Linked DNA regions of Homo sapiens: regions 2 and 3 are each linked to region 1. Evidence: promoter capture Hi-C in 16 types of primary human blood cells and fetal thymus (Javierre and others, 2016). All regions are on one chromosome and are shown on one strand. Each heading gives the region's core, a stretch centred on a gene start or on the middle of the fragment in contact. The rest is flanking DNA. Distances are from core to core; before and after follow the strand shown.

The links. The method cuts DNA at HindIII sites, captures the fragments that hold promoters and counts their contacts. A CHiCAGO score of 5 or more calls a contact.
Region 2: a fragment that was not itself captured here is called in contact with the fragment with the promoter of APOE in region 1 in 2 of 17 cell types (naive CD4 T cells and naive CD8 T cells); the score reaches 5.2 in naive CD4 T cells.
Region 3: the fragment with the promoter of PVR here is called in contact with the fragment with the promoter of APOE in region 1 in 1 of 17 cell types (neutrophils); the score reaches 7.1 in neutrophils.

The regions. Positions count from the first base shown.
Region 1 is chr19:44,904,194-44,907,583 of GRCh38, reverse strand. It overlaps APOE (apolipoprotein E), which reads right to left and starts at 1,788. Exons shown (of 4, transcript NM_000041.4): 1 at 1,743-1,788; 2 at 917-982. The coding sequence starts at 959. RefSeq lists enhancers at 64-866, 1,669-2,471. The HindIII fragment of the contact is 10,718 bases long and covers 1-3,390 here.
Region 2 is chr19:45,350,624-45,353,376 of GRCh38, reverse strand. It overlaps KLC3 (kinesin light chain 3), which reads right to left. Exons shown (of 13, transcript NM_177417.3): 11 at 2,630-2,736; 12 at 2,360-2,423; 13 at 1,858-2,091. The coding sequence ends at 2,020. ERCC2 (ERCC excision repair 2, TFIIH core complex helicase subunit) reads left to right here. Exons shown (of 23, transcript NM_000400.4): 18 at 43-135; 19 at 222-294; 20 at 561-631; 21 at 728-871; 22 at 1,025-1,168; 23 at 1,656-2,753. The coding sequence ends at 1,748. Among named protein-coding and RNA genes, the nearest start is that of KLC3, 11 kb to the right of the region's middle. The HindIII fragment of the contact is 7,370 bases long and covers 1-2,753 here.
Region 3 is chr19:44,642,397-44,645,786 of GRCh38, reverse strand. It overlaps PVR (PVR cell adhesion molecule), which reads right to left and starts at 1,877. Exons shown (of 8, transcript NM_006505.5): 1 at 1,612-1,877. The coding sequence starts at 1,690. RefSeq lists a silencer at 1,846-1,925. The HindIII fragment of the contact is 7,623 bases long and covers 1-3,390 here.

The DNA of each region.
Region 1 (3,390 bases), core at 539-3,038:
GCTCTGTCACCCAGGCTGGAGTGCAGCGGCCTGAACATGGTTCACTGCAACCTTGACCTTCTGGGCTCAAGCGATCCTCCTGCCTCAGCCTCCTGAGTAGCTGAGAGCACAGGTGTGTGGCACCATGCCTGGCTAATTTTTGTATTTTTAGTAGAGACAGGGTCTCACTATGTTGCCCAGGCTGGTGTTGAACTCCTGGGCTCAAGTGATCCTCCCACCTTGGCCTCCCAAAGTGCTGGGATTACAGGGGTGAGCCACCGCGCCCAGCGGAAAAGCATGTATTGAGTGTCCTTGTGTGCCCCAGGCAGGGCTGTGTGGGGGTGATGGAGAATAAAGATCACAGCTGCCCCGTGTCTGGTATTCACTATCTGCCTGCAATGCATTAGAAACCTCTAACTCCCAGCCAGGTGCGGTGGCTCACGCCTGTAATCCCAGCACTTTGGGAGATCGAAACGGGCAGATCACCTGAGGTCAGGAGTTCCAGACCAGCCTGGCCAACATGGTGAAACCCCGTCTCTACTGAAAATACAAAAAAGTTAGTCGGGTGTGGTGGCATGTGCCTGTAGTCCCAGCTACTTGGGAGGCTGAGGCAGGAGAATGGCGTGGACCTGGGAGGCGGAGCTTGCAGTGAGCCGAGATCCCGCCACTGCACTCCAGCCTGGGCGACAGAGCGAGACTTCATCTCAAAAAAACAAAACAACAACAACAAACAACAACAACAAAACAACTTCTAACTCCTATCTCAAGGATGGGGGAAACCGAGGCCCAGAGAGCGTCAAATCGCTGTTCAGAGCCAGGAAGCAGCACAGAAGCCTCAGAAGAGGGGGCCCAGGGTCTGCCTGAATGGGGCCAGGAGGTTGAGGTGAGGATGAGAGGGGGAGGAGCGGGGGGAACCGAGCAAGCCCCGCCCCCATACCTGCCAGGAATGTGACCAGCAACGCAGCCCACAGAACCTTCATCTTCCTGCCTGTGATTGGCCAGTCTGGGGAAGGAGAAACTGTCAATCAACCGCCAGTGAGGACTCCTCCCACCCCCAGCCCGGCCCCAACCCGGCCTCACCCCAGGTTAGCCTTCCAAGCCTTGTTGCATTATCTGCAACAGCCTAATCCCAGCACATTTACCAAGCCGCCCCCAACCCATTCCCTATTTAACTCCCTCCTGGTCTTCTCTTATCTCCCCATCCCCAGGTCGGCCTCCATAGAAAATTCCATCTTCCTCTCCCGGGGTTCAAATTCCATCCCCCCACCCCCTCCCCACCGCCGGTTCCATCTCAGTCCCAGTCTCGCATTCCTCATTCTCCCTTCACATTCTAAGCTCCAACCTCACAGTTAAGCGCCGTGTTCCATTTATGAGCTAATTCAGTCCTCATTTTAAAGTTCTCCAATCGACGGCTAGCTACCGTGTCGCTGCCCCTGGCTCCCCAGTTATGGAGATCTGAGGACACTGGGGACACCCAGTAGGTGCTCGATAAATGATAGTGACAACTCGTGGAGTCCTGCTATGGCTTACATCCCAGTCCAGCTGCTCTCCCCACCCCACCTTCTAGCGGGTCGGGTCGTCTCTGCTGCCCAGCCCTTCCCAGGTCCAGTCCCCTGCTGCTTGCCTCACCCCCGCTCCTCCTCTCCCCAAGCCCGACCCCGAGTAGCTCTCCTGAGACTACCTGGAGGCCAGGGGTTCCCAGGGTCCCAGCTCTTTCTAGAGGCCCCTGAGCTCATCCCCGTGCCCCCGACTGCGCTTCTCACCGGCTCCTGGGGAAGGACGTCCTTCACCTCCGCTGGGGCTGAGTAGGACTCAAGGATCCCAGACTTGTCCAATTATAGGGCTCCCCCTGTCCCGCCCCCTCCCCCAGGGATAGGGCGGGCTGGGCCAGCCCCCAGTCACGAGGTGGGCTGTTCTCCCCCTGCCCCAGGCACAGCAGGGCAGAGGGAGGAAGGAGGTGGGGCATAGAGGTCTTTTGACCACCCCCCACAGTCCCCAGGAAGGGAGGACACCTCGCCCAGTAATACAGACACCCTCCTCCATTCTGGGGGCCAAGCGTGGAAGGGGAATGTGGAGGCTGCCGCCCAGAGTCCTCCTTTCCTGACCCTGTCCTTTCCTGTGCCTGGATGAATGTAATCTGGAGAGGGGGCTGGGGATCTGGACTCCTGGATCCCAGAAAGAAAGTAGGGCTAGGGGGCTGGACAGAAGTGGGATGGGAGGGGCTGGGGGCGGTAGCTCACGCCTGTAATCCCAGCACTTTGGGAGGCCACAGTGGGCGAATCACTTAAGGTCAGGAGTTTGAGACCAGCCTGGCCAACATGGTGAAACCCCATCTCTACTAAAAATACAAAAGTTAGCCAGGCGTGGTGGCGGGCGCCTGTAATCCTAGCTACTTGGGAGGCTGAGGCAGGAGAATCGCTTGAACCCGGGAGGCGGAGGTTACAGTGAGCCGAGATCTCGCCACTGCACTCCAGCCTCAGCAAGAGGGAGACTGTCTCAAAAAAAGAAAAAAAAGAAAGTGGGGCTAGGCGGCTGGACAGAAGTGGGATGGGAGGGGTGGGAACAGTATGATGCACCTGCTAAAAGTCGAGGCTTTGCAAATGGGACCTGGGTTTTAATCACAGCTTCCTCTTTGGTTGTGACCTTGAGCACAGGGGAGCCCCCTCCCCACATGTGAAATGAGATTCCAGCACCTCCCCCTGGCTGCCACAGGTATTGTGGTTTCCAGGGGCTTGAAGCCGTGCTTCTGGGTTAAGGTTAGGATTCTGGAGTCAAATTGCCAGGGCGTGAATCCTGGCTCTGCCAGTTGCCAGCTGTGTGACCTTGGGCAAATGACTTGTCCTCTCTGAGCATCAAGTTCCTTTGCTCATCAGACTGGGAAAGCAGCGGCACGGGTATGTTTGGTGACAAGCTAACGTGTATTGAGCATGGAGGACAGCCCTGGCACACAGCGGTCCTATGTTAGGGCTAGCAATGGACAGGCCACAGTGAACGCTCAGACGCTGTCACTTTCCTAAGCCCTGTTATAAATCCCAGATGTTTCAGAGGAGAAACCCGTGGTTCAGCAGCAAGACGAATGGCAAAACCACACAGTGAGAACTGGGAGAGACTGGGACTCATTCCTGGCTCCTGGAGCGGGTGGGATCAGAAGATTCTGCGGGTCAGGGGAGGCTGAACTCCTGGTTCGAGAAGGAACCCCCAGTGCCGGGCCGGGCCTGTTTGCTTTGGCTGGCAAGGGGTGGCTGAGGTGGGGTTGGTAACCTGGGGTTGGTTCTACTCAGCAGCCTCCTTCCCCAGACCCTGGGGGCAGACAGGGTTTCAGTTCCTGGAGGCTCGGGAGTCGTGGTGGGCATCAGCTGACCCCAGCCCTAGGTTGGCAAAATCCAGACAGCACCAAGTCCTCAGACACAG
Region 2 (2,753 bases), core at 1-2,500, 450 kb before region 1:
TGTGCCCTGAACCCACCCTGACCTCCCTGGGTCCTTCCCCAGGGGATCCTTGAGAACATCCAGAGGAACAAGCTGCTCTTTATTGAGACCCAGGATGGTGCCGAAACCAGTGTCGCCCTGGAGAAGTACCAGGAGGTGGGTGTGCGAGGCCAGCGTGGAGAGGGGTCGGGGAGGTGGCTCTGAGGAGTGACCTAACTTGCGTCTCGGTCTCCCCACCTCAGGCCTGCGAGAATGGCCGCGGGGCCATCCTGCTGTCAGTGGCCCGGGGCAAAGTGTCCGAGGGAATCGACTTTGGTGAGTGGACTGGGCTCTTCCTCCCCAGGTGTCTTCCCAGAGCTCTCTGGAACACCTGCCCGCTCTGCTGTCTGCTCCCGCGGGGAACCACCCACCCCCAGCCTAGGTGCACAGAGGGGCCCTCCCCTCCCCTCTGTCCCTAGGCACCCGGCGGGAACACACCCTCTCCCCCCAACTCAGACACAGCATCCTGGGTCGCGTGAGGCTGTCCCTGTCCCACCAGCCACACTTGTAACCCCCCTCGCCCCCTCTCCTCTGCCCACCAGTGCACCACTACGGGCGGGCCGTCATCATGTTTGGCGTCCCCTACGTCTACACACAGAGCCGCATTCTCAAGGTGAGTAGCTCTGTCTCCCAGGGAGTCCCACAGTGTTAGGATCAAGGGAGGAGTGGCTCCCCCACCTCCCCAGCTTCTCATCCTCCGTATCTGCAGGCGCGGCTGGAATACCTGCGGGACCAGTTCCAGATTCGTGAGAATGACTTTCTTACCTTCGATGCCATGCGCCACGCGGCCCAGTGTGTGGGTCGGGCCATCAGGGGCAAGACGGACTACGGCCTCATGGTCTTTGCCGACAAGGTGCAGCTTCAGGGGTGCCCCTGTGCTCCCATCCCAGGCTCCAAGAACCAGGCTGTTTCCCGTTCATTTCCCAGGTGGGGTGGGTTGCAGGGTGGAGAGTGGCCCAGGCTCCCCGAATGACCTTCTGTCCCTGGCCTGCGCTTCTGCCCACAGCGGTTTGCCCGTGGGGACAAGCGGGGGAAGCTGCCCCGCTGGATCCAGGAGCACCTCACAGATGCCAACCTCAACCTGACCGTGGACGAGGGTGTCCAGGTGGCCAAGTACTTCCTGCGGCAGATGGCACAGCCCTTCCACCGGGTGAGGCCTGCGTCCCCCTCCCGGCACCCTCCCAGGCTGAGCTTCTCCTCCAGAAAGTCCCCTTGGATTCTCCCCACTCCCCACCCTCAGCCTGCCTGTCCTCCTGCCCTCAGCAAAGAGAAGTTTATCGTGCATCTACGTGCCAGGCTCTGGGGGGAAGGGGGAGATTCGAGGGGCCACAGATGCCAGCAGGTGGCCCAGGCACGGCAGGGTGAGAGAAGTTGGGGTGAGGAGGCATTGGGCGTTTTCAGGAGAGACGGTGCTGGCCTGGAGAAAGCCGGTCCTTCTCCGACTCCCTAGCTGGCTCCTCCCTCAGCCCCATCTTATGTTGACAGGGATGGCCCGCTCTGGATTATACGGACATCTCCAAATTCATTCAAACATCCTGTCCCTACTGGCCATTCGGGGGGGTGGTTGGGGAAGTGCAGCAGCTGCCTGGGCCCCTGCCCAACAGTGCCCCCCTCTCCCTTTCCTCTGTTCTCTGCAGGAGGATCAGCTGGGCCTGTCCCTGCTCAGCCTGGAGCAGCTAGAATCAGAGGAGACGCTGAAGAGGATAGAGCAGATTGCTCAGCAGCTCTGAGTGGGGCGGGTGGGGCCATAAACGGTTCCTGGTGACTCCTGAGTCTTGCCTGGCCCTGGTTCCCAGCGGCGGTGGTGCTAGAAGGTCTTATGAAGTCAGGTGACATTTCTCACTGTCACGTCCACAGCCTTTAATCGCAGGAGAAGGCAGCTATCCACCAGGTACCCAGAGGCAAGGGGGGGCCAGGAGATGATAGACCCCCTCTCACCCCACCAGCCCATCCCTCCTGCACTGTTCCCAAGAAGCTGCGGCCAGCGCAGTTCACTGGACGTTAGTGGGGGCTCAGGTCCTGGGTGCTGGCGCTGAGGGTCCGAGGGGCCTTGTCCAGGTGCCAGCTGGGAAACTGGAGACAGGCACAGGGGATGGTTGGAGGGGAGGTGAGGGGCAAGTGTTACATCCACCCTCCAGCTCCAGGTCCAGCCTGGCAGCCAACTATCCAACCCCCTCGCCTCTACCCCAAGTAAAACCCATCTTTGCTCCTGTCCTGGGTCTCTTCTGACACCAACCCACCACCTGCTGACTCCACCACTGGCCCGACCGCCCTGCCTTTGCCTCATCTCTGCACCTACCCACATGGCCTCCTCTATTTTTGACCCAGATGTCCCCCTCACCTGAGTCCCAGGAGCCCTTGGAGCATCCACGTTCAGTGTGTTGAGTGACATGGCTCTCTTCATTCTGCAAAGAGGGCAGCAGGGAGGAAATGAGTGAATCCAGGAGTGGCCCCCCTCCACGAGGGACCTTTCCAGCACAGGGTTTGATCTGTGTGTATCACAGGGGAGATGGGAGCCATGGAAGGTTCTTGAGCAAGATGGGGGTGGGGGTGGGGTGGGCTGTGGATTCTGCTGATGTCAGGGCTCTTTGCCGACCTGATCAACACTCACCCGGCTGCTCCTGCCGCCGCCTCGCCTCGGAGCCGGGAGACCAGCTTCTCACTTCCTCGCCTGATAGACTCACGGATCTTGGAGAGTGAGCTGCTGCGGCGAAGGGCCTGGGGAGGGGCCGGGG
Region 3 (3,390 bases), core at 628-3,127, 260 kb after region 1:
GTCTTGCCATATTGCCCAGGCTGGTTTTGAATTCCTAAGCTCAAGTGATCCTCCCACCACAGCCTCCCAAAGTGTTGGGATTACAGGCATGAGCCACTGTGCTTGGCTGCAACCAGCCTGGGCAGCATAGCGAAACCCTGTCTCTACCAAAAATACAAAAAAAATTAGCCAGGTGAGCACCTATAATCCCAGCTACTCCAGAAGCCACAGTGAGAGGATCGCTTGAGCCTGGGAAGTCGAGTTTGCAATGAGCCGGGATTGTACCACTGCACTCCAGCCTGGGCAACAAAGCAAGACCTTGTCTCTCTCATACACACACACACATACACGCACACACGCACTATATATATATATATATATATATATATATACACAAAACATATAAATAAATAATAAAATATGTTATCTATTTACTCTTTAAATGTATAATAAAATATATATTATTTATTATATAAATAATATATGTTATAAATATATAATATATTTAATATATATTTATTAAGAAATATATTATTATATATTATCAATTATATAATACATAATACATATTATATATTATAATAATATATATAATATATAATATACATATTATATATTATAATAATATATATAATATATAATATACATATTATATATTATAATAATATATATAATATATTATAATATATTATATATTACTATAATATATATTATATATTTTATTATATATTATATATTACTATAATATATATTATATATTTTATTATATATTATATATTACTATAATATATATTATATATTTTTATTATATATTACTATAATATGTAATATATAATAATAATATATAATATATATATTTATCAGGAGTTTGAGACCAGCCTGGCCAACATGGTGAAATCCTGTATCTACTAAAAATACAAAAATATTAGCCAGGCATAGTGGCACATGTCTGTAATCCGAGCTACTCGGGAGGCTGAAGCAGGAGAATCGCTTGAACTCGGGAGGAGGAGGCTGCAGTGAGCCGAGAGCAGGACACTGCACTCCAGCCTGGGTGATGGAGTGAGACTGTCTCAAAAAAAAAAAAAAAAGAATGAAAGAATGAATGAATGGCCAGGCCCCTGGAGTCAGACATTGGGGGTCAGAGGGGTAATGGTGTCAAGTGTCACCCACTGTCCTCCTCCCCAACATCAACCATCCCCTCCGTCCAGACCCAGCCTGCCAGCACGCTGCTGGGTTATGGCCTGGGTATGCTGAGCAGGAACCTGGGTAAGGTAATCCGGCATGCGTCACCATCTGCTGATTTTCCGGGATTCACTTGCCTTTTTGGGAAATTTCCTCACCCAACTCCATCCCCTTTCCGAGGGGCCCAGAGGAGGGTCTTGTGCCCGACCCGTGTTGCTGCCAATTTCGAGGAATTTCTGTACCCAACTCCGACCGCTCTCCGGGTGGCCAAGAGGAGGGTCCTGCCCTCGCACCCTCGCACCGTGTTCCTTCCAACCCCGGGGCAGAGATGGGGGGTGGGTGGCGCCGGGCGGGGCCGTCATCTTCGGGAACCCAAGGGGGCGAGTACCCGGCCTGGATGCGGAGCTGGGAGCCAGACAGGGGCCACCGGACTGCGCGGGGGTCACTCACCGGTTCCTGGGGGTGGCCAGGACAGCACCAGTAGCGCCACCAGCAGCAGCGGCCACGCGGCGGCCATGGCTCGGGCCATGCCAGTTGCTCCGAGCAGCTGGGCCTCCCGCGGGCGTCTCCTCGCTTCCCGGCGCCCGCTCGCTCTGCCGCGGTCGCTGCGAGTCCAGCTCCCGGAGCTCAGGTCCTGGAATCCCCGGGGGGCCGCTCCTCCAGTGCCTGGGGTGGGAAGGGGAATACCCACTTCTTCAAGCTCCAGACAAGTGACTGGAGCGGAGGGGAGTTGGCGGCCAGTCCCGCCAGGCGCGGGGTGGGCCACCCAGGCTGGCCCTCCCCGCGCGCCTGCGCCTGCGCAGGTCTCTCCCGGCGCTCAGTCCCGCTGCAGACGCGCGCTCGCTCCGTCGGTGCCCACTAGAAGAGGCGGCTTCCTGTGTGAGGTCGCCCACATTCCAGGTGAGGAAACGGAGGCACACGGAGAGATTCAGCAACTTACTAACGGCTCGCGGTTGCCGAGTGGCAGAGCTGAGGTTCCAACTCGTGATGGGACAGATCCTGAGCCCACCAGGCTGTCCTTCCACGCAGCCTAAACTTCCCATGGGCTTTGGGGTCAGACAAGACCAGGGCTCATGTTGGGCAAGTGGTTTCTCCTCGAGGGCCCTCAGATTCTTTATCTGAAAAATGGGCATAGTAGGGCGCGGTGGCTCAGGCCTGAATTCCAGCATTTTGGGAGGCTGAGGCAGGAGGACTGTGTGAACCCAGGAGTTAGAGGCTTCAGTGAGCTACCATTGCGCCACTACACTACAGCTTGGGTGGCAGAGCCAGACCTGTCTCAAAAAAAAAAAAAAAAGTTTGGGGGCTGGGGGAGCAAGCGCAGTGGCTGACGCCTGTAATCCCAGCACTTTGGGAGGCCGAGGCAGGAGGATCACCAGAGGTCCAGGAGTTCAAGACCAGCCTGGCCAACATGGCAAAAACCCATCTTTACTAAAAATACAAAAATTAGCCGGCATGGTGGCACATGCCTGTAATCCCAGCTACTGGGGAGGCTAAGACAGGAAAATCACTTGTACCCGGGAGGCAGAGGTTGCAGTGAGCCAAGATCGGGCCTCTGCACTCCAGCCTGGGCGACAGAGTGAGACTCTGTCTCAAAAAGAAAGAAAAAAGGGCATACTAACAGTACTTACCTCACAGCGTGGTCTGTAAAACTTAAACAAGAAACTGCCTAGCTCAATTTCGGGGATATAGTTTGTACTAAATAAAAAGCTGATATACCAACAATAGCAGCAGTGGCAGTGACAATTATTATTATTGTTGCTTTACAGTTGGCATCAAATAATAATGTTCATGAGAATGGTCATTCATTCATTCTTCATTCAGCATATATTTATTGATCCAGCCAGTATCCCAGGCACTGGGTATACAGCAGAAAATAAGACAGACAAAAATCTCTGCCTTTAATGAAGACCGTGTTCTAGTGGAGGGAAACAGACCATAAACAGATTAATACCAGAACTCCATCAGGTCTGGGGAAGATAAGGGTTATGGACCAGCCTGCAGTAGGGAGAGGGGAGGAGGGAGGGGGGAGAGAGAAAGAGAGAGAGAGAAAGAGAGAGAGAGAAAGAGAGAGAGAGAGAGAGAGAAATGAGAGAGAAACAGACACACTCAGAGATAAGGGCTGGGAGACAGAGACAGAGAGATTGAAAGAGATAGAGACACAGCATAGACAGAGGGAGATGAGAGAGAAATGAGAGGTGACAGAGAGACTCAGAGAGCCAAACCCTCAGA